Regions from separate parts of the Homo sapiens genome. Here regions 1, 3 and 4 are each linked to region 2. The links are contacts of gene promoters, found by promoter capture Hi-C in human tissues and cell types (Jung and others, 2019). All regions are on one chromosome and are shown on one strand. The core of a region is centred on a gene start or on the middle of the fragment in contact, and the rest is flanking DNA. Distances in the headings are between cores, read along the strand shown.

The links. The method cuts DNA at HindIII sites, captures the fragments that hold promoters and counts their contacts. A contact is called where the count stands out against the background at its distance.
Region 1: a fragment that was not itself captured here is called in contact with the fragment with the promoter of BBC3 in region 2 in 1 of the 25 tissues and cell types used here (IMR-90 fibroblasts).
Region 3: a fragment that was not itself captured here is called in contact with the fragment with the promoter of BBC3 in region 2 in 3 of the 25 tissues and cell types used here (bladder, liver and stomach).
Region 4: a fragment that was not itself captured here is called in contact with the fragment with the promoter of BBC3 in region 2 in 1 of the 25 tissues and cell types used here (hippocampus).

Annotation. Positions count from the first base shown.
Region 1 is chr19:46,776,441-46,781,306 of GRCh38, forward strand. It overlaps SLC1A5 (solute carrier family 1 member 5), which reads right to left. Exons shown (of 8, transcript NM_005628.3): 5 at 2,235-2,468; 6 at 771-965; 7 at 535-669. Among named protein-coding and RNA genes, the nearest start is that of SLC1A5, 9.7 kb to the right of the region's middle. The HindIII fragment of the contact is 7,318 bases long and covers 1-4,866 here.
Region 2 is chr19:47,229,527-47,234,766 of GRCh38, forward strand. It overlaps BBC3 (BCL2 binding component 3), which reads right to left and starts at 1,673. Exons shown (of 4, transcript NM_014417.5): 1 at 1,403-1,673. RefSeq lists silencers at 831-1,550, 1,691-1,920 and enhancers at 2,061-2,180, 2,890-3,513, 2,940-3,209. The HindIII fragment of the contact is 48,720 bases long and covers 1-5,240 here.
Region 3 is chr19:46,966,775-46,971,552 of GRCh38, forward strand. All of the region lies in intron 3 of ARHGAP35 (Rho GTPase activating protein 35), which reads left to right. Among named protein-coding and RNA genes, the nearest start is that of NPAS1, 51 kb to the right of the region's middle. The HindIII fragment of the contact is 4,877 bases long and covers 1-3,940 here.
Region 4 is chr19:46,892,465-46,897,023 of GRCh38, forward strand. All of the region lies in intron 1 of ARHGAP35 (Rho GTPase activating protein 35), which reads left to right. Among named protein-coding and RNA genes, the nearest start is that of ARHGAP35, 34 kb to the left of the region's middle. RefSeq lists a silencer at 531-610. The HindIII fragment of the contact is 4,402 bases long and covers 156-4,557 here.

The DNA of each region.
Region 1 (4,866 bases), core at 1,586-4,085, 450 kb before region 2:
CAAATAATCCACCTGCCTGGGCCTCCCAAAATGTTGGGATTACAGGTGTGAGCCACCGTGCCTGGCTGCTTTCCAATCTTTATACTCTTAATAGCTTAATCGTGATAGCAAATAATTATGTAGCAATTACTGCTTACTGGGGGCTGCTCTAAGGGAGGTGTGTCTGTTATCTAATCCTTAGGGAGAGACTGTTCTTCTCCCCGTTTTACAGATGGAGAAACTGAGACGCAGGAAGATTAAGCACTTCCCGAGGTCACAACAGTGAATGTTGGAGCTGGGATGTGAACCTGAGCAGTCTGGCTGAAGAGTCTGCTGTATTCACCACACAGACGCTCTACTTTTCTGACATCCCTCTTAGAGCCACAAAGATGCCATTCCTTGCCCTCAGGAATGCTCAAGGTTCCCCCCATTTCCTCCAGAATTCCTTCCTTCTTCTCTTCCTCTTCTGTCCAGAGGCTCTAAGGACTCTCACTCACTCATCCTCTTTCCCAGGGGTACCCCTGGCCCTGCCCCAGTCTCCAGACCCACACTCACACTAGCCAGTCCACAGCCAGGATCAAGGAGATATGGTCGACCGGGAGGTTGACTGCTTCGAGGATGATGGCCAGAGTGAGGACACCTCCAGCAGGGATGCCCGCTGCCCCCACGCTGGACGCTGTGGCCGTGACCCTGAGGGAGAAGGTGGGAGGTTAGGCAGATGCCTGTCTTGTGGGAGAAGATGGGGGTCAACAGGGGTCCGGGGGTCCCATCCGCAGCCCCCTGACACTCACAGGATGGTGATGATCTTTACGAAGTCCAAGGACTGCTGGCTGAGCTGTGCAATGAACACTGCGGCCACGCACTGGAAGAGCGCGGCACCGTCCATGTTGACGGTGGCGCCGATGGGCAGGATGAAACGGCTGATGTGCTTGGCCACGCCATTATTCTCCTCCACGCACTTCATCATCAGCGGCAGCGTGGCGGAACTGCAAGGGATGGGGGAGCTGAGTTAGGTTAACCTGCTGACCGGGGCTCCGCCCACCCTCCAGGTCCAGCCCAGGTGAGGCCTCGCCTACCCCACCCCAACCAGCCAAAGCCCCACCCACCCCACCCAGTGGATCCCCACCAGAGCCTGCCTAAGCAAAGCCCTGTCACCCAACCACCCTCCAGGTCTGACCTGCACCACCCACCCAGTTGAAGCCCCGCCCACCCAGAGCCCACCCACACCACCTGCCCAGCCAAAGCCCCGCCCACCCAGATCCCGCCCATACCACTTGCCCAGCCAAAGCCCCGCCCACCAGATCCTGCCCATACCACCTGCCCAGCCGAAGTCCCACCCACGTCCCCAGTCTGTCCCTTGGCCCAAGGCCCCCACATCTAACCTAGACCCCCCTTCCCTCCTACCATGTCCTGACTCCACCCCCAGCCCTCACTTGCTATATCTAAGCTCTTTTCCCACAAGCAGGCAGCACTAGGGAACTCAATACCAGGATTACAAAATCCATGAGTCCTGGAACCCCTGGGAGAGTATAGACTACTACCTCCCAAAATACCCACACAATTCACACCTAAATTCTACTGTCTGGGTCCTGCTGACTCTCACCAATAATACACTAAGAATTACTATTGTCTTGGGAGGGGACAGGGCCAGCAGGGATGAATGAAATGCCCAGGAGAGACGGTGGAAGGAGTTCTGAGGTTGAATCAGAGCAGAACTTAAGAGCCCCCCAGGGGCATGGCAGCTCACACCTATAATCCCAGCACTTTTGGAGGCCAAGGTGGGCGGATCACTTGAGGCCAGGAGTTTGAGACCAGCCTGGCCAACATGGCGAAACCCCGTCTCTACTAAAAACACAAAAATTAGCTGGGTATGGTGGGGGACACTTGCAGTCCCAGCTACTCGGGAGGCTGAGGCAGAGAATCACTTGAACCCAGGAGGCAGAGGTTGCAGTGAGCTGAGATCACACCACTACACTCCAGCCTGGGCAACAGAGCGAGACGCCATTGTTTAAAACAAAAGAAAAAAAAGAGTGCCTCCAGGGCCACGGGGAGGCAGTGTAAGAAAGAGGGAAATAAATCTCTAGGGCAATCATTTCCTATCTTTTTAAGGGTGGGGATAAATCCAGGACCTTATGAGAATCTCCTGAAGTATGGCCCCTGTACCCAGATACAATGTCCCGGGCAGAGAAAATTTCATCCGCTCCATGCCGCTTAGCGGATTAAACATCCCACCCTAGCCCACCCCAAGGCCGTACCTGGAAGAGGTCCCAAAGGCAGTGGCCAGCGGCGTCACGATGCCCCACAGGAAGCGGTAGGGGTTTTTGCGGGTGAAGAGGAAGTAGATGAGGGGCAGTACCAGGAGCCCATGGATGGCGTGACCCAGCAGGCAGCACAGAATGTACTTGCCAAGGCGGGCAAAGAGTAAACCCACATCCTCCATCTCCACGATCTTGCCAGCCACCAGGAACATGATGCCCACAGGGGCGTACCTGATCAGTAACACAGGAGACAGCTTGTTGCCTCTTCCACGGGCCCAGTGGCCAGGCGTGAGGCTCAGCACCCTACCCACATCTTCCTGCCTTCCTGAGGTCAGGAGAAGCCCCAGCAATGTGTGCTTCAGCATGGGCACCACTCCCAGGCCTGGCCCCTGAAGCCCCCATGCCAATCTCATGCTCTCTTTCCCCTCAAAGGTAGAGCAGCCCGGAGATAAAACTCTCCGTGCAGGCCGGGCACGGTGGCTCATGCCTGTAATCCCAGCACTTTGGGAGGCTGAGGTGGGTGGATCACCTGAGGTCGGGAGTTCAAGACCAGCCTGACCAACATGGAGAAACCCCGTCTCTACTAAAAATACAAAATTAACCAGGCGTGGTGGCGCATGCCTGCAATCCCAGCTACTTGGGAGGCTCAGGCAGGAGAATTGCTTGAATCAGGGAGGCAGAGGTTGCTGTGAGCCAAGATCATGCCATTGCACTCCAGCCTGGGCAACAAGAGTGAAACTCCATCTCAAAAAAAAAAAAAAAAAAAAAGTCTCAGTGCTTCCATCACCATGTGAAGCAGTCACCAGATTTGGACTTCACATGGGAGACAGAAAGAAATGTCCATCAAGGTGCGCCATTCACACTTCCTGGGTTGGTTTGCTATGGCAGCTAGCATGACTTGAGCCAATACGCTCTCTGCAGATGATGAAAGATAAAGAGGCTGGGCACAGTGGCTCATGCCTATAATCCCAGCACTTTAGGAGGTGAAAGCAGGAGGATTACTTGAGGCCAGGAGTTCTCGAGACCAGCTTGGGCAACACAGCGAGACCCAGTCTCTACAAAAAATAAAAATAGGCCAGGCACGGTGGCTCATACCTGTAATCCCAGCATGCAGGGAGGTGAAGGCAGACAGATCGCTTGAGCCCAGGAGTTCAAGACCAGCCTGGGCAACATGTCTCTCTTTTTTTTTTTTTGAGATGGAGTCTCACTCTGTTGCCCAGGCTGGAGTGCAGTGGCATGATCTCGGCTCACTGCACCCTCCGCCTCCCAGGTTCAAGCGATTCTCCTGCCTCAGCCTCCCAAGTAGCTGGGACTATAGGCGCGTGCTACCACGCCCAGCTAATTTTTTGTATTTTTAGTAGAGACAGGGTTTTTCTGTGTTAGCCAGGATGGTCTCGATCTCCTGACCTCGTGATCTGCCTGCCTCAGCCTCCCAAAGTGCTGGGATTATAGGCATGAGCCTCCGTACTGGGCCACCCAGTTTCTTAAACAACAACAACAAAAAAAATGAGCTAGGCTTTGTGGCTGGGGTCTGTAGTCCCAGCCACTTAGGAGGTTGAGGTGGGAGGATCACCTGAACCCAGGAGGTCCGGGCTGCAGTGAGCTGTGATCATGCCACACTGCACTCCAACCTAGGCAACAGAGCGAGATCCTAGTTCAAAAAACGTTTTTTTAAATTACTATTATTATTATTATTTAGACAGTCTCGTTCTGTTGCCCAGGCTGGAGTGTACTGTTGCAATCTTGGCTCACTACAACCTTTGCCTCCCAGGTTCAAGCGATTTTCATGCCTCAGCCTCCTGAGTAGTAGCTAGGATTAAAGGTGTACACCACCATTCCCAGCTAATATTTGTATTTTTTTGTAGAGAGGGTTTTTCGCCATGTTGACCAGGCTAGTCTCTAACTCCTGGCCTCAAGCAATCCTCCCCCCTCAGCCTCCCAAAGTGCTGGGATTACAGGTGTGAGGTACCACAACCAGCCAAAACACACATTTTTAAAATAAAAATTTGAAGGCCAGGAGCGGTGGCTCACACCTGTAATCCCAGCACTTTGGGAGGCCGAAGAGGGCGGATCGCTTGAGGTCAGGAGTTTGAGACCAGCCTGGCCAACATGGCAAAACCCTGTCTCTACTAAAAATACAAAAATTAGCTGGGTATGGTGGTTCGTGCCTTTGGTCCCAGCTGCTCAGGAGGCTGAGGCAGGAGAATCACTTGAACATGGGAGGCAGACATTGCAGTGAGCTGAGACTGTGCCACTGCACCTCCAGCCTGGGCGACAGAGCAAGACTCTGTCTCTAAATAAATAAATAAATAAAATAAATACAAATTTTAGAAAGACCATGGCCTGGGTCTTAATAACAACTCCCAGGTATGAAGCATTTGCGATGTGCTCTGCCCTTGAACATGATGTTGAATCTTCCCAGCAACCCCCGGAGGGAGGTCCTATGAGTCAGATTGCAGATTACACAACACCCAATAGATTCCTCACGGGAATGCTGGGAGGATGCAATGAGATGCCAGTTGAAAGGAGCTAAAGCTTTTTACAGACAATAAGTGATCTGTAAACTTCAGGTGGGTTTATTATCACCCTCTCCTGCTGTGAAGATCCCAGGGATGGCTCCAAGCCAAGA
Region 2 (5,240 bases), core at 423-2,922:
CACACACCTAGCGCACCCACAGAAAACACTGGTCTCACGTGACTGACATAAACACTACACACACGCAGCCCACATGACACACATGAGCCAGCCGATCACAGTGACAAGCCCCTCAGACCCAACACACACACACACACACAGGCTCAGACACAACCCCATCCAGAGGCTGCCAGCAACACCCACCGTCTACACTGCATAGACCCCACAGATCCTGGGTCCTCAAATCCCAGACGCTGATGCCAGACACACAAGCCAAACCCAGACTGAAACAACCCCCCACCACACACATACATACACACACACACTCACACCTGACAACTCACACAGACACCTGGACAGAAAACAGACATTTGCATTTAGCAGGCGCAGCATCACAAACGCTGGGCAAAAGACACATGCCCCGGAGATACAGAGACGGCCTCAGCCAAGACAGAAACACACAGGCAAGACACAAGCACACATATCGCACGCTCGGGCAAGACACACACATAAACACACAAACAGCTCACTCCAGCAACACACACACACTACAACCTCCACACCCCAGCACACGCAGGCACCACAGACCCCCAGTATCATCCCGGAACAGCACACACAGACAACTCTCACCGACAACACACGCAGGTCCACCCACCCCACAAGCAGGGCACCCACAGACAGAACCCCACACAAACAGGCGCGGGGACTCACGCAGACACCCCGACGGGTCAGAAACCCCAACATTCCTCTGGATCGACACCACCACTCCCTGCAGAACCCAGCACAAACTCGGAGCCAGACACGCGCACACACCCAGGCGAGACACCTGCAGATCCACAACCCCGCACACGCGCGCTCCCACGGCGGTCCCAGACACCCCCCTCCGCTGTCACAGCCCCCCCCACCGCCGCCACGTGCGCCCGCCCCGCCCGCCAGGCGAGCGCGGGGCCAATAACCGGCTGTTGCTGGGGCGCAGCCCCCGCCCGCAGGAGCCGCAGACTCCACGGCCCGCGAGCCGCCCCCCGTCGCCGCCCCCAGCGGGCGCGCGCCCTGGGTGTGGCCGCCCCTCCGTGCCGCCCCCCCGCCCCTCCCGGACTTTGGGGGCTGGGGCACCCCTGGGGTCGACCCTCTTCCCCGGGGCCGCACTGGCCGCCAGGGGGCGCTGCCGAGCCCGCACCCCATTGTTTGTAAACAAACCCGCCAGACCGCCGAGGCACCTGTGCGCCCAGACCGGCGCCCCAACGCCGAGCCGCCTCTCACCCGGCGACCCTGGCCCAGGGTCCCTCGCGGGGTTTGGAGAGGCGCGGTGTGGGGAGGCAGGGCGCCCACACTGCTCTCCGCCTGCACTCCTGTCACCTCCTCCAGGGAGTCCACCCGGCCTGGCCGATCGCCGCCGGAGAGGATTCGGGGCGCGCACACTCACCCCGGGGGCATGAACACGCCGGAGGGGGCGGCGGTGGGGGGCGGGCGGCTTCCTTCAGGAGGGCGCGCCCGCCGAGCGCCGCTCTCCGCGGCGGCTGCTGCTGTGGCTGTCGCTGCTGCTGCCGCTCTAACTGCAGTGGCGGCTGCTGTGGCTGTGGCTGCTGCTGCTCCCCGGGCCGCAGGCGCGTCCGCGTCGTGGCCGCTGCTGGGATCGCTGGTGCCGCCGCCGCCGCCGCCAGGCGCCCGCTCGCATGTGGCTCGCGCCGCGTCTCAGGCCGCCCGGCGGATCCCGGGCCCGCTCCAAAGCCGCCCCGCCCCGCCCCGCCCCGCCCCCGCCCGGCGGGTCCCACGCCCCGCCCCCGCGTGACGCTACGGCCCCGCCCGCCCGCCGCGGACAAGTCAGGACTTGCAGGCGCGCGCCGCGCCCCCCCCTACCTCCGCGCCGGGGGTTTCCCTGCAGCGGGGGACGGGGCAGGGCCTAGCCCAAGGCAAGGAGGACCCAGGCGCTGTGCGGCGGGGTGTGGGGAGATCGCCCAGACACCGGGACAGTCGGACACACACACTGACTGGGACCCACAGATCCACACCCCCAGCGATGCGTACACAGACCGACCGACGGGCGTTCCAGGGTCCACAAAGTCACGTGCAGGCAGAGCCCAGAGGATGTACTCACAGACACAAGGCCACAGTCTCGCAAATCCACACCATGGACAGGGGCATGAGCACACACACTCACATACTGATGGGGCTCACACTTACACACACCCAGACGGAAATGCACAGACTCACTAACAGGGTCCCCTGGACAAGCAGACGGACACAATGACAGGGCCACACACAGTTGCAGAAACACCCACACTGATGATCACACCTGGGCCCACAAACTGTGTTCACAAACAACCCTACCGAACAGGCACCCACACCACACACACGGTGGTGCAACCACACAGACATAGGCGGAGTGCTTATCAGGAAACACAAACTTGCTGATAGGCACAGGGGACACACACATACACACAGACACCTGTTACAGGGATACCTGGATACACGGCCAAATCCAAATCACACTCCCACAGGGACATACACAAATGCACTCACACAATTTCACAGCTAACACATTAAAACTATCAGAAAGTGACATTCGCCCGACACGGTGGCTCATGCCTGTAATCCCAGCACTTTGGGAGGCCAAGGTGCGTGGACTGCCTGAGGTCAGGAATTCGAGACCAGCCTGACCAACATGATGAAACCCCATCTCTACTAAAAATACAAAATTAGCCGGGCGTTGTGGCGCATGCCTGTAATCCCAGCTACTTGGGAGGCTGAGGCAGGAGAACTGCTTGAACCCGGGAGGCGGAGGTTGCAGTGAGCCGAGATAGTGCCATTGCACTCTAGCCTGGGCAACAAGAGCAAACTCCGTCTTAAAAATAAAAATAAAGGAAAGAAACTGACATTCAGAGACACAAACCAAATCAGACATAGAAGAAACTGACCACCCACACATGTCACAAAGTCACACCTGTGACAGCTTCTTGCTAACTGGCCCACTGCACACACGTCGGAGCATGCACACCTGGCCACACTCACCACAAATCTGGCAGGGGACCCACGTCGTGGAAGCAGCCCTGGGCACCTGGCATGGACATGCCTGGGCAGACCCCATGCCAAATTTCATCCTGTCTCATAGCTTTCCATTCCGTTTCTTTTTCAGTTTCTCATTGTTACTTCCTGCCCTGCTCTGGTTTGGTGAGTTTTGTCCTTCCTTTTTCCAAAGCCGTGGATTCCTGTCTCCTCTACACTTTCCATCCTTACTGGGTCTCACCCAATCGCAATCGCCTCACCAGAGTGACTCACCTTCCAGTGCCTAGTGTGGGGCTGGCTGAGTAAGGATGTCAGACTTCTCAAACTTGACTGCCTCCAAGTACACACTCTTAGCTCCCCCAAGAGATGCAGGTAATCTATATCTCACGTGAAATCTCCCCATTTGCAACATTGGGAACTCCTCAGCTTTCCTCCCTCTTTCACTTTCCCTCCTCTTTCGCTTTCCCCGATTATTCATTGTCCCTTCCTTCTTCCTGGTGTTTTCCAAACTGTGGGTCATGAGTAAACCATGGATTATGACATATGACATCACTTACATGGATCTTACTTTTTTTTTTTTTTTTGAGACAGAGTCTCGCGCTGTCGCCCAGGCTGGAGTTCAGTGGCATGATCTCGGCTCATTGCCACCTCCGCCTCCTGGGTTCAAGCAAGTCTTCTGCCTCAGCCTCCCTAGTAGCTGGGACTACAGGTGTGCGCCACTATGCCCAGCTAATTTTTGTATTATTGGTAGAGATGCGGTTTCACCATATTGGCCAGGCTGGTCTCAAACTCCTGACCTCGGGATCCGCCTGTCTTGGCCTCCCAAAGTGCTGGGATTACAGGTGTGAGCCACTGCACTCAGCTTTTTTTTTTTTTTTTTTTTGAGACGGAATGTCACTCTGTTGCCCAGACTGGAGTGCAGTGGCACGATCTCAGCAAACTGCAAGCTCCGCCTCCCAGGTTCAGGCCTTTCTGCCTCAGCCTCCCCAGTAGCAGGGAGTACAGGCGTCTGCCACCACACCCGGCTAATTTTTTGTATTTTTTAGTAGAGACAGTGTTTCACCATGTTAGCCAGGATGGTCTCGATCTCCTGACCTCGTGATCTGCCCTCCTCGGCCTCCCAAAGTGCTGGGATTATGGCGTGAGCCACTGCACCTGGCCCAGCCTTTTTTTTTTTTAGATAAAAGATTCACTCTGTCGCCCAGATTGGAGTGTAGTGGCACAATGGATAGCCTTGTGGTACAATAGCCTTGCAGCTTCAAACTCCTGGGCTCCAGAGATCCTCCTGCCTCAGCCTCCCAAGTAACTGGGACTACAGGTGTAAACCACCACGCCCAGCTAATTTTTATTTTTTTGTAGAGATGGGCGGTCTCGCTATGTTGCCCAGTCTGGTCTTGACCTTATGGGCTCAAGCAAACCTCCTGCCTCCGCCTCCCTCAGTGCTGGGATTACAGGTGTGAACCACCATGCCCGGCTGACTTAATGCATTTTACTCAGTAAGATGCATTCACATCCCAACCAACTTGCGCTTTACTGAGATGTATTTAGACACAAGAATATTCACTCTTTTTAGGTGTATGGTGTGTAAGTGGTGATAAAAGTACACAATTTTGTATTACCACAACTTCTACCTGCAATTTTACTGACCTAGACAAGAGGTTTTGTTGTTGTTTTAATTGAGACAGATTCTGGCTGTGTTACCCAGGCTGGTTTCAAACTCCTGCGCTCAAGCGATCCTCCCACCTCAGCCTCCCTAGTAGCTGGGATTATAGGTGTGCATGACTGCTTTGACCAGAGTTAAAAAAAAATACACCACAGGCCGGGCATGGTGGCTCACACCTGTAATCCTAGCACTTTGGGAGGCCGGGGGACGTGGATCACCTGAGGTCAGGAGTTTGAGACTAGCCTGGCCATCATGGTAAAACCCCATCTCTACTAAAAATACAGAAATTAGCTGGGCATGGTGGTGGGTGCCTGTAATCCCAGCTACTCGGGAGCTTGAGGCAGAAGAATTGCTTGAACCCAAGGGAAGGAGGTTTCGGTGAGCCGAGATCGCGCCATTCCATTCCAGCCTGGGCGACAAGGGCAAAACTCCGTCTCAAAACGCCAACAACAAAAATACACTACAGGCTGGGCACGGTGGCTCATGCCTGTAATCCTAACACTTTGAGAGGCCGAGGCGAGTGGATCACTTAAGGTCCGGAGTTCGACACCAGCCTGGCCAACAGGGTGAAGCCCCGTCTTTACCAAAAATATAA
Region 3 (4,778 bases), core at 252-2,751, 260 kb before region 2:
GAGGAAGCCTGAGGCCAGCCCCCATTGGAGATGACTACACACATCAAAGAGAAAATTAATATCTCTCCACAGTCAGTTTGCCCAGTGCCCATGAGGCTGCAGGGGTTAGTGCTGCAGAAGTCAGGGAGCTTGCTTGCTTGGAGTCTGGGATGGAGGCTTGTCCTTAAAGATACACTGGATTCTCTAACAGGATGGGAGGAATAGTCTAGGTGTGGAAAGTCAACTGAATGAGAGTCAGGTGTAGAGGTGAGAGGCCGTGCTGACCACGTAGCCATATTGCCCTAAAATCCTTTGAACGTCAGCCTCCAGCAATTGGACTTGGCCTGGGCTTTTCAGATTTTTTTTTTTTTTCTCAGATCCCTAGAATTGTAAGGGAGTCCTTCTGCATGGGGACGGGAAAGGTCAGGCCACCAGGACTCTGGATCCTTCAGCCTTAAGGTTCAGTTTAAGATTTCATTTGGAAGAAGGATTTTCTCACTCCTGAGAAAGCTTGTCAGCCCTCACCGTTACCATTTGCGGGAAGGTAGGGTTTGAAGGTTTTCATCCCAGAGAATCTGCTGACCTGAGTCAACAGCATGTCCTCCATGGGGAGGGGGTCTCTCCCTTGTTACCTTCCCACACCAGTCAACCTCATCAGTCAGTCCCATTGTTTTTACCACCTAAGCGTGTTTTCAGCCTGGCCCCTGCCCCTGCGTTTAGTCTCTCACCCTCTTCTTGGTTTACTGTGGTAGCCTCTTTGTAATTGACCTTCCTGTTTCTGGTCTCATGTCCTTTCAGTCCCTTATGCACACTGCTGCAAATATCTTTCCAAAATAAATGGGATCACTTCATCTTCACCTGCTTAAAACTCATCAGTGGTTCTGTATCACTCTAGGATGAAGTTTCATCCTACTACTTACCAGCAGGATGTGGTCCCTGCCCACTGTCTAGCTCTGCCTCTTGCCATTTCCTTCATTCACTCTAAACTTCAGCCCACAGATTAAAACTACGCACAGTTCCTTAAGCTGCCATTATATTTCTCACCCGCACTGCCTTTCCTTGCTGTTCCACTTCGAGACTCCCTCCCAGAGTCCTTCTCTGATCTGCTCTGTGAGCCAGGGCTCCCTGCCGTGTCTGTCACGCCCGGAGTCCTTCTCTGACCTGCTCTGTGAGCCAGGGCTCCCTGCCATGTCTGTCACGCCCTGTGCTTTCCCAGTGAACACGTAGCACACTGTACTCTGATTGTCTTCCTTCCTCAATGGATCCTAAGTTCCTTGAGGGAAGGGACCGGGTCATCTTCATTGTCTCCTCCAAGCCAAGCATACAGGGCTCTAGTAAATGATGATGAATGACTGAATGGCACAGAAACACTCCAGAGACCTCTCCCCTCAAAAGCTTCATTCAGTGGTGGAAACGTGGAATTGTATACATAGAAAGGGAGGAGGAAGAAGATTCATATAACACTAAGGTCTTGAGCAAGGTGGCAGTATCTGGGCAGGAGCAAATGCCCAGTGTTTAGTGTAGGGGCACAGCATGTGTGTTGCTGATAGGGCATGCGTGTGAAACATTTAGGTGGGATATCTAAATAAATGGGCTTGGACAGAAGGAGCTGTGGGTCAGCAGAGCAGGAGGGAAGAAAGCAAGGGAATCCACCGGCAAGGCTAATGGGAAGCCTGCTGTCCCTCGGCTGGAGGCCAGCCACAAAGTGTCACACACATCCTTCCTGAGTTTGGGGAAATATCTGTAGGTCACTTCAGAATTTGGGTTCAAAATAATATGGAGGCCACATTATTCATAATAGCCCCAAAATGGTAAGAACCCAAATATCCCACTGATGAGTGAATGGATAACGAGATATAATATATTCATACAGTAGAATATTATTCGGCCGTAAAAAGGAACAAAGTAGTGACGTGCTACAGATGGATGAACCTTGAAAACATTACGCTAAGTGAGGTAAACTAGTCACACAAGATCACATGGCCCATGATCTCATTTACACAGAATTATCTAGAATAGGCTAATCTATAAAGATAGAAAGTAGATTAGTGGGCCGGGTGCAGTGGCTCACACCTGTAATCCCAGCACTTTGGGAGGCCAAGGCAGGCAGATCATCTCAGGTCGGGAGTTCAAGACCATCCTGGCCAACATGATGAAACCCTGTCTCTACTAAAAATACAAAAATTAGCCGGGCGTAGTGGTGTGTGCCTGTAATCCCAGCTATTCAGGAGACTGAGGCGGAAGAATCTCTTGAACCTGGAAGGCAGAGGTTGCAGTGAGCCAAGGTTGCACCACTGCACTCCAGCCTGGGCCAGAGAGCAGGACTGTCTCAAAAAAAAAATAGAAAGAAGTAGATGAGTGGTTGCCAGGGGCTGCGAGAAGGGAGAAATTTGGAGTGGCTGCTCATGGATACAGTTTTTTGGGTGTTGATGACAGTGCTCTAAAATTGTGGTGATACTTGTGCAACTCTGAATGTGCTCACAGCCATCGAATTGGACACTCTCACAGTGGGTGAATTGTATGTTGTGTGAATTATATCTCAATAAAACGGTTGTGAAATAATAATCATAATAAACGGAGGATAGGTGGATAGATGTTTTACTCCAGGTTTGCTACTTAAAATTTTTCACTGAGTCTGCAGTGGCCTGTGTTCTTTTTGAGGTGGGTCCTTGGAGAAGAGACCTGCTCTGACAAAGCTTCCTCACTGCCTGGTGGTTTCTCCTGTCTGGCACATACACTCTGTCGGACTGCTTGAGGCACTGCTCCACTCTCAGGAGCAACCAGGGATGGGAGACAGCACTAGTGTCTTCGGTGAACGTCTGCATCCAGCCCGCGTGAGCTGCGACACACAGACCCTTAGAGAGCACTTGCCTCCTGCAGAGGTCTAGGGGCAGAGGGTTGGACCAGTCCTGCCCTCAATAACCACTCAGCGACTTGTTTTCTGTGGGGTGTCATCAGCTCAGAGAAGCAACACGTCTTTCCTAGGTTCTCTGAAGGAGATCTACTCATGCCATTGTTGGATCTGTCTGCTACAAGTGTTACTGGGCTGGATTCGAGGACTTTGTTTTTCCATCTGCCCTCTGTATTTTCCTAGGAATGCTTCTGTGAATACCCCCCTCCCACCTGCCAAGGCAAGTGAGGCAGCAGCACCAGGAGAGCTGGACCCCTGCACACACCACCACTGCCACCACGCTGCCTTTGCTCCGCTGCCTGGCTTCTCTGTTTCCCCTACTGAACTGTGAGGAATTGGGGCAAAGACTGCCTCTTCTTTCCATTACCTGTGACCCATAGTAGGCACTCGGGTATCTATTGAAGGAATTAGTGAATTTTTCTTTCCACGGATTGAATTAGATTGGGACAAAGAAAGAAAGTCATGGGGTGCAGGGTGAATTCTTGGGGCTTGATCACTTCAAGATCTCATCTTGGCTTAAGTCTGTCAACATTTTTCTTTTTCCTTACCCAGCCCTAAGCTATTTCCATTGGCAATATATTGCACACAAGCTGTGTTTCACTTCTTAATGCTATGGGATATTGCTGCTACAAGAGCCATCCTTGGTGTTTGCAGAAATATTTGTGATTTGAGGAACCCAGTGCAGTGTAGAGCAGGTAATGTGGGGGAGAGCAAACTCACACCCCTGCAGTCTCTAACTTGAAGGACTGTGCAAGCAGGCATGTTCCTTACGTAGGGGTGCTTAACCTAAGGTCTGTGGATAGGCTATGGAAGTCTGAACTCCTCAACATTACTGCGGAAATTTTGTGTGTGTGCACACACACCCAGGTGTACACTTGCCCTGTGGATGGTGCAGAGTCTATACCCTTCATCAGGAGATCAGAGTGAGGGGCGTCTCCTCCCCTGAAAAAGTTAGAGATCACTGTTCATTCACAGCGTTTGTGGAAACTATACCACTGATCGAGAGCAAGCCAGGACGATGATGCAGCCTTGTTCTCAAGGGATTTATAATCTAGTAAGGGTGAAGATTTCACCCTAAACCATGTAGAGCCTACAAAAGGAGGTCAGGGAGGCCAGGGAGGGCTGGGAGGTAGAGTTGTTGGGACTTAAAGGATGACTCGAAGTGGAATGATTGAGCCTAGATCAAATCATTTTCTCTTCACAGCTCTCCGTGACAGGAGACTGCATAGCTTCCCTGTGAGTCCATGGGCCCCAAAGTGATTATAACTGACCTCTAGCTTGACTGTGCCCATCCCCTGCCATTGGATCCTCTCCAAAACAGACAGTCATTGTCACGTATACTCACACGACACACAGGGAAAATAGCAACCAACAAACTGTTTCCATGTGTTAGAGTGGTAGAACCTGGCTCCATTTCCAGTGTCTCACCTCCATGTGTATGAACTAAAAATAGGCAAACTTGGCTGGGCGCGGTGACTGACGCCTATAATGCCAGCACTTTGGGAGGCCGAGGCAGGCAGATCACGAGGTCAGGAGTTCAAGACCAGCCTGGCCAATATGGTGAAACCCCATCTCTACTAAAAATACAAAAATTAGCCGGGCGTGGTGGCGTGCGTCTGTAGTCCCAGCTACTCGGGAGGTGGAGGCAGGAGAATCGCTTGAACCCGGGAGGCAGAGGTTGCAGTGAACTGAGCTCACGCCGCTGTACTCCAGCCCGGGCGACAGAGCCAGACTCCATCTCACACACACACAAAAAAAATAGACAAACTTCTGGGGGGTATCAGGGTGTAATGACTCCCTTGGTTTTTTGGGTTTTTTTTGTTTTGTTTCTCTTTTTTGGGGTTTTTTTTTTTGAGACGGAGTCTTGCTCTGTCACCCAGGCTGGAGT
Region 4 (4,559 bases), core at 1,107-3,606, 340 kb before region 2:
TCTCAAAAAAAAAAAAAAAAAAAAATTGGTTAATGGACCTGTTGGGTGGGTATGGAGCCACAGTTGGTACCTTTGATCCTGAAATTGTCCATTATAATAAGATATTACTGAGAGCAATTTTCTAAAGTACGAAGTATGTAATGAAGATACAGGGAGAATATTCAGAAGTTTTTGTTGGCTGCTTTTTTTTTTTTTTTTTCTGCCAGGAGTAGGTGGGACAAGTATAAAGGAAAGTGGTATCAGGAGGAAGTAAGAAGTAAGAAACCACCTAAATAATTGTTAGCTGCTTGTCCTCATAGTTCTTTCCATAGGTTGATTCTGAGTTGGGGCGTCTCTGCACTGTACCTTGCAATCAGGCCGGACCACTTGCTTTTTCCTGAACACTGTGTTCAGGCTTTGTATGTTCATGAGGTCCCTCTGCCTAGAGTATCTCTTCTCCCAACATTTGTAAGTCCAGTTCTCCATGCATCAGAGCTTCCTGGTGTTGCCTTTTAGAGTTCTCATCAGCTTATAACTCCCTGGAGAGCACTGACTCTCATCTTCGGATCCTTCACCGTCATGGTCCTTTGCACATGGTAGGTGCTAAATAAAGGGTTGTGGAACTAAGTGAAGAGTGATACATATGAAGGAAACAAACACCTGTGTAAGGGAGAAGGCTATAAATTAAAATTTTCAGATACCAGTGAATTCTGCGGGGGAGCTTGGGAAACCCTTAGAGTTTCACTGACAACCTGAATAGGGGGAGGAGCCTGCCCTGAGTTAGGAAGCAGGAGTGTGGGGAACAGGTAGCCAGCCATAAGGTCTTGGCCAGGTCATATCACTTCTGGACTGGAGTTAACACCTTCAAAAACTGTTCGGGTTGGACTTTTTGAACATATAATAGAGGTGATGTTGATGAGCATCTACCGTATACCAGGTACTACTCTAGGTCCTGGGAATATAGTAGGTTGCCACCAGACAAGACCCCTTCTTTTCTAGTGGGAAGCATTGGGTGGGAAGTTAGTCCTTTCTAGCCTTAAAATGCTGTGATTCTGTCATCTGAAGAATGGGCACCAACTTCTGCTTGGGATTGTTTTGAGGATCAAATGAGAAAGCACTTTAAAGATTATAAAACACACTTACCTTGTTTATTATGAATACTTCTCTCCCCCCTTGGTTTTGCCCCCCTTGGTTTTGACTTAGGTTTTTTAAAAGTTTAAAATTGAATTGTACCAATAGGAGTATGAACTAATGATCCCAGGGTTTAGGTAGATTTGGGGACTTAAATCTTTCAATAAGTGATCCTTTAGCTAGATTGGGATGTAGGTTTGTAATATCATCTTCACCAGTGAAAAATGTATTGGGGGGGAAGTCCATTTATTTATGGATATTTTGGATATTTTGTTTCTGCCTTAACATAAGTTCGTTCGTTCGTTCTTTCTCTTTTTTTTTTTTTTTTTTTAAGATTTCAAACTGTCTCTGCCATTATTCTTAAATACAACTTTATATTGGTGAAGGCTGCTTGTCAGGGAAAAACCAAACTTCTCTACTGATTTGGGATTTTTTTTTACCATAAATTCAGGGTGCAGTTGTTCTTGAAGTGGTTCCATTTTGTGATTAGGCTGAGTATTTTTAAGCACAACTCTCTCCCTTGTCCTTAGAATTATCTCCAGTATCCTCAAAACAAAGAGCAAATGATGCAATTAGGATGCAATCCCTTGCCTGTGGATTTCAAGGAAAATTATTTTCCACACTACTTGGAAGCTCATGGACAAAGTCAAGCTTTCTTTAGATCTGGTGAACTTAGAAAAAATAACTTGATGAAGTGAGATTCTTACCTTGAGGTTAGTTTTTGAGAGTGGATCAATGATGTGAAATTTCTAAGATATTCTTGATTTATAAATATCACTTTATGACTCATTCCTTGGAGCAGTTTTTATTTTTTCCTTTGAAAAACTTTAGATGTAATTGACTTTGGTTTACACTCTATCCTGTTTTTTGGTTTTTTTTTTTTTTTTTTTGGAGACGGAGTCGCTCTGTTGCCCAGGCTGGAGTGCAGTGGCACGATCTCTGCTCACTGTAACCTCTGCCTCCTGGGTTCAAGCGATTCTCCTGCCTCAGCCTCTCGAGTAGCTGGGACTACAGGTATGTGCCACCACACCCAGCTAATTTTTGTATTTTTATTGGAGATGGGATTTCACCATGTTGACCAGGCTGGTCTAGAACTCCTGACCTCAGGTGATCTGCCCGCCTCAGCCTCCCAAAATGCTGGGATTACAGGTGCAAGCCACCACGCCCGGCCATACTTTTAGTGAAAGGAAAGCCATGTATCTTTTTCTGCTGTCTCCTATGTCATGTCTTACTCTGCCGTTTTGTAATGGTCCTTGAGATTGAGATAATAGAGAGAGATTTTCTAGATTTTCACCTACTCACTGATTTTTACTACAGGCATTTTAATTCCTTTAAATTTGAGACTGATTTTCTTCCCATAGTATTTAACTTATCATCATCCTTATAGGAGGGCCAGACCCTTAGGATTTATGTGAATACTGCTAGTTGGTAGGAAAGGTACTTTTCCTGAAGCCTTGAAAGAGTATTTCCAGAATAGTGAGCTTCATATTTTTTTGGTAACTTTTTTTTAAAGGTATACTTTCTGTGTAAATAGAAATGAATTTTTGCAATTGGATGAGGGGGAAAAAAGCTGAAATTTAAGGGCAAAATCTTTTTTTTTTTTTTTTGAGACGGAGTCTCGCTCTGTCACCCAGGCTGGAGTCCAGTGGCGCGATCTCGGCTCACTGCAAGCTCCACCTCCCGGGTTCACGCCATTCTCCTGCTTCAGCCTCCCGAGTAGCTGGGACTACAGGCGCTCACCACCACGCCCGGCTAATTTTTTTGTATTGTTAGTAGAGGCGGGGTTTCACCGTGTTAGCCAGGATAGTCTTCGATCTCCTGACCTCGTGATCCACCCGCCTCGGCCTCCCAAAGTGCTGGGATTACAGGCGTGAGCCACCGCGCCCAGCCGGGCAAAATCTTATAGCATCTTATCCCTTCTATGGTTTGGGAAATTAAGAAAAGTGCACGTTGGTGTTTTCTCACAATTTAATGCTCAGGCAAGTAAAATGATATCCTTAATTGCAAGTTACTGAAGTTGAAAGGCGACCATTTCCCATCAATTAGAAATGGTCTTTATGGTTAACTCTGGCAGAAATTCTGTTCTTCTGTGAGGCTTGGGTGATATCAGTAATCCTATTGAGGAGAGAGCATATTGAATCCTCTGACTTTGGGCAAATAATTTAGTCTCCAGGTCCCAATGCCCTTGTCTGTGAAATGAAGAGAATACTTACCCTTCCCGGGTGGATTTAAAAATCTGTGAGGAAGGCCAGGTGCGGTGGCTCATGCCTGTAATCCCAGCACTTTGGGAGGCTGAGGCAGGCGGATCTCCTGAGGTCAAGAGTTTGAGACCAGCCTGGCCAACATGGTGAAACCCCATCTCTACTAAAAATACGTAATTGGCTGGGCTTAGTGGCACATGCCTGTAGTCCCAGCTACTCGGGAGGCTGAGGCAGGAGAATCGCTTAAACCCAGGAAGCAGAGGTTTCAGTGAGCCAAGATCGCGCCACTGCACTCCATCCTCGGTGACAAGAATGAAACCCCGTCTCAAAAAAAAAGCTATAAGGAAGCCCAGCACAGTGGCTCACACCTGTAATCCCAAGCACTTTGGGAGGCCTAGGTGGGAGGATCACTTGAACTCAGGAGTTCAGACCAGCCTAGGCAACATGGTGAAACCCTGTTTCTACAAAAAATTAGCCAGGCGTGATGGTGTGCACCTGTAGTCCCAGCTGAGGTGTATCACCGGAGCCCGGGAGGTCAAGGCTGCAGTGAGTGGTTATTGCGCCACTGCACCTGCACTCCAACCTGGGCAACAGCAAGTCCCTGTCTCAAATAAAAGCTAAGAAGGCAAGTTTTGTAATAGTACTTTGAGCAGCATAAGGTACATATACAAAATATTGTGGGAAATATATTATGAAGTTTTGCATCTAGGTACATAAGAGACTGTTTCCCTCACAGTGGAGAGCTTTGGTAAAAGAGCAAGTGGATTAGAGCAGTTGTAGCTTCTGTTTTCTCCAGAAAGCTCACGCTGTGCAGCAGCTGTTTTTGTCCATTCTGGCTTTGCAGCAGTGCAGTATTGGGGTTAAGCCACGTGTGTGGGCCTCAGAGGCAGGCAGCTGGGGCCATACTAAGCCGGGTGATCTTGAACGAGTCTCTTGACCTCTGCAAGCCTGTTTTCTCATCTGTAAAATGGGGATTATAATAGTAGCTGCTCTGTTGGGTTACTGTGAGAAATGCTTAATATGGATTGTAGGGCATGATTTCCTATGGTAAGGTTTTTAGAAGTAATAATGGACCAGCTAAAAATGTTCAAGCATTTATCTACTGGGCATGTTGTCTTTTTTTCTTTCTTTCTTTTGAGACAGCTTCTTGTTCTGTCACTCAGTCTGGAGTGCATTGGCGCGATCTTAGCTCACTGCAACCTCCGCCTCCCAGGCTCAAGGGATCCTCCCACCTCAGCCTCCCAAGTA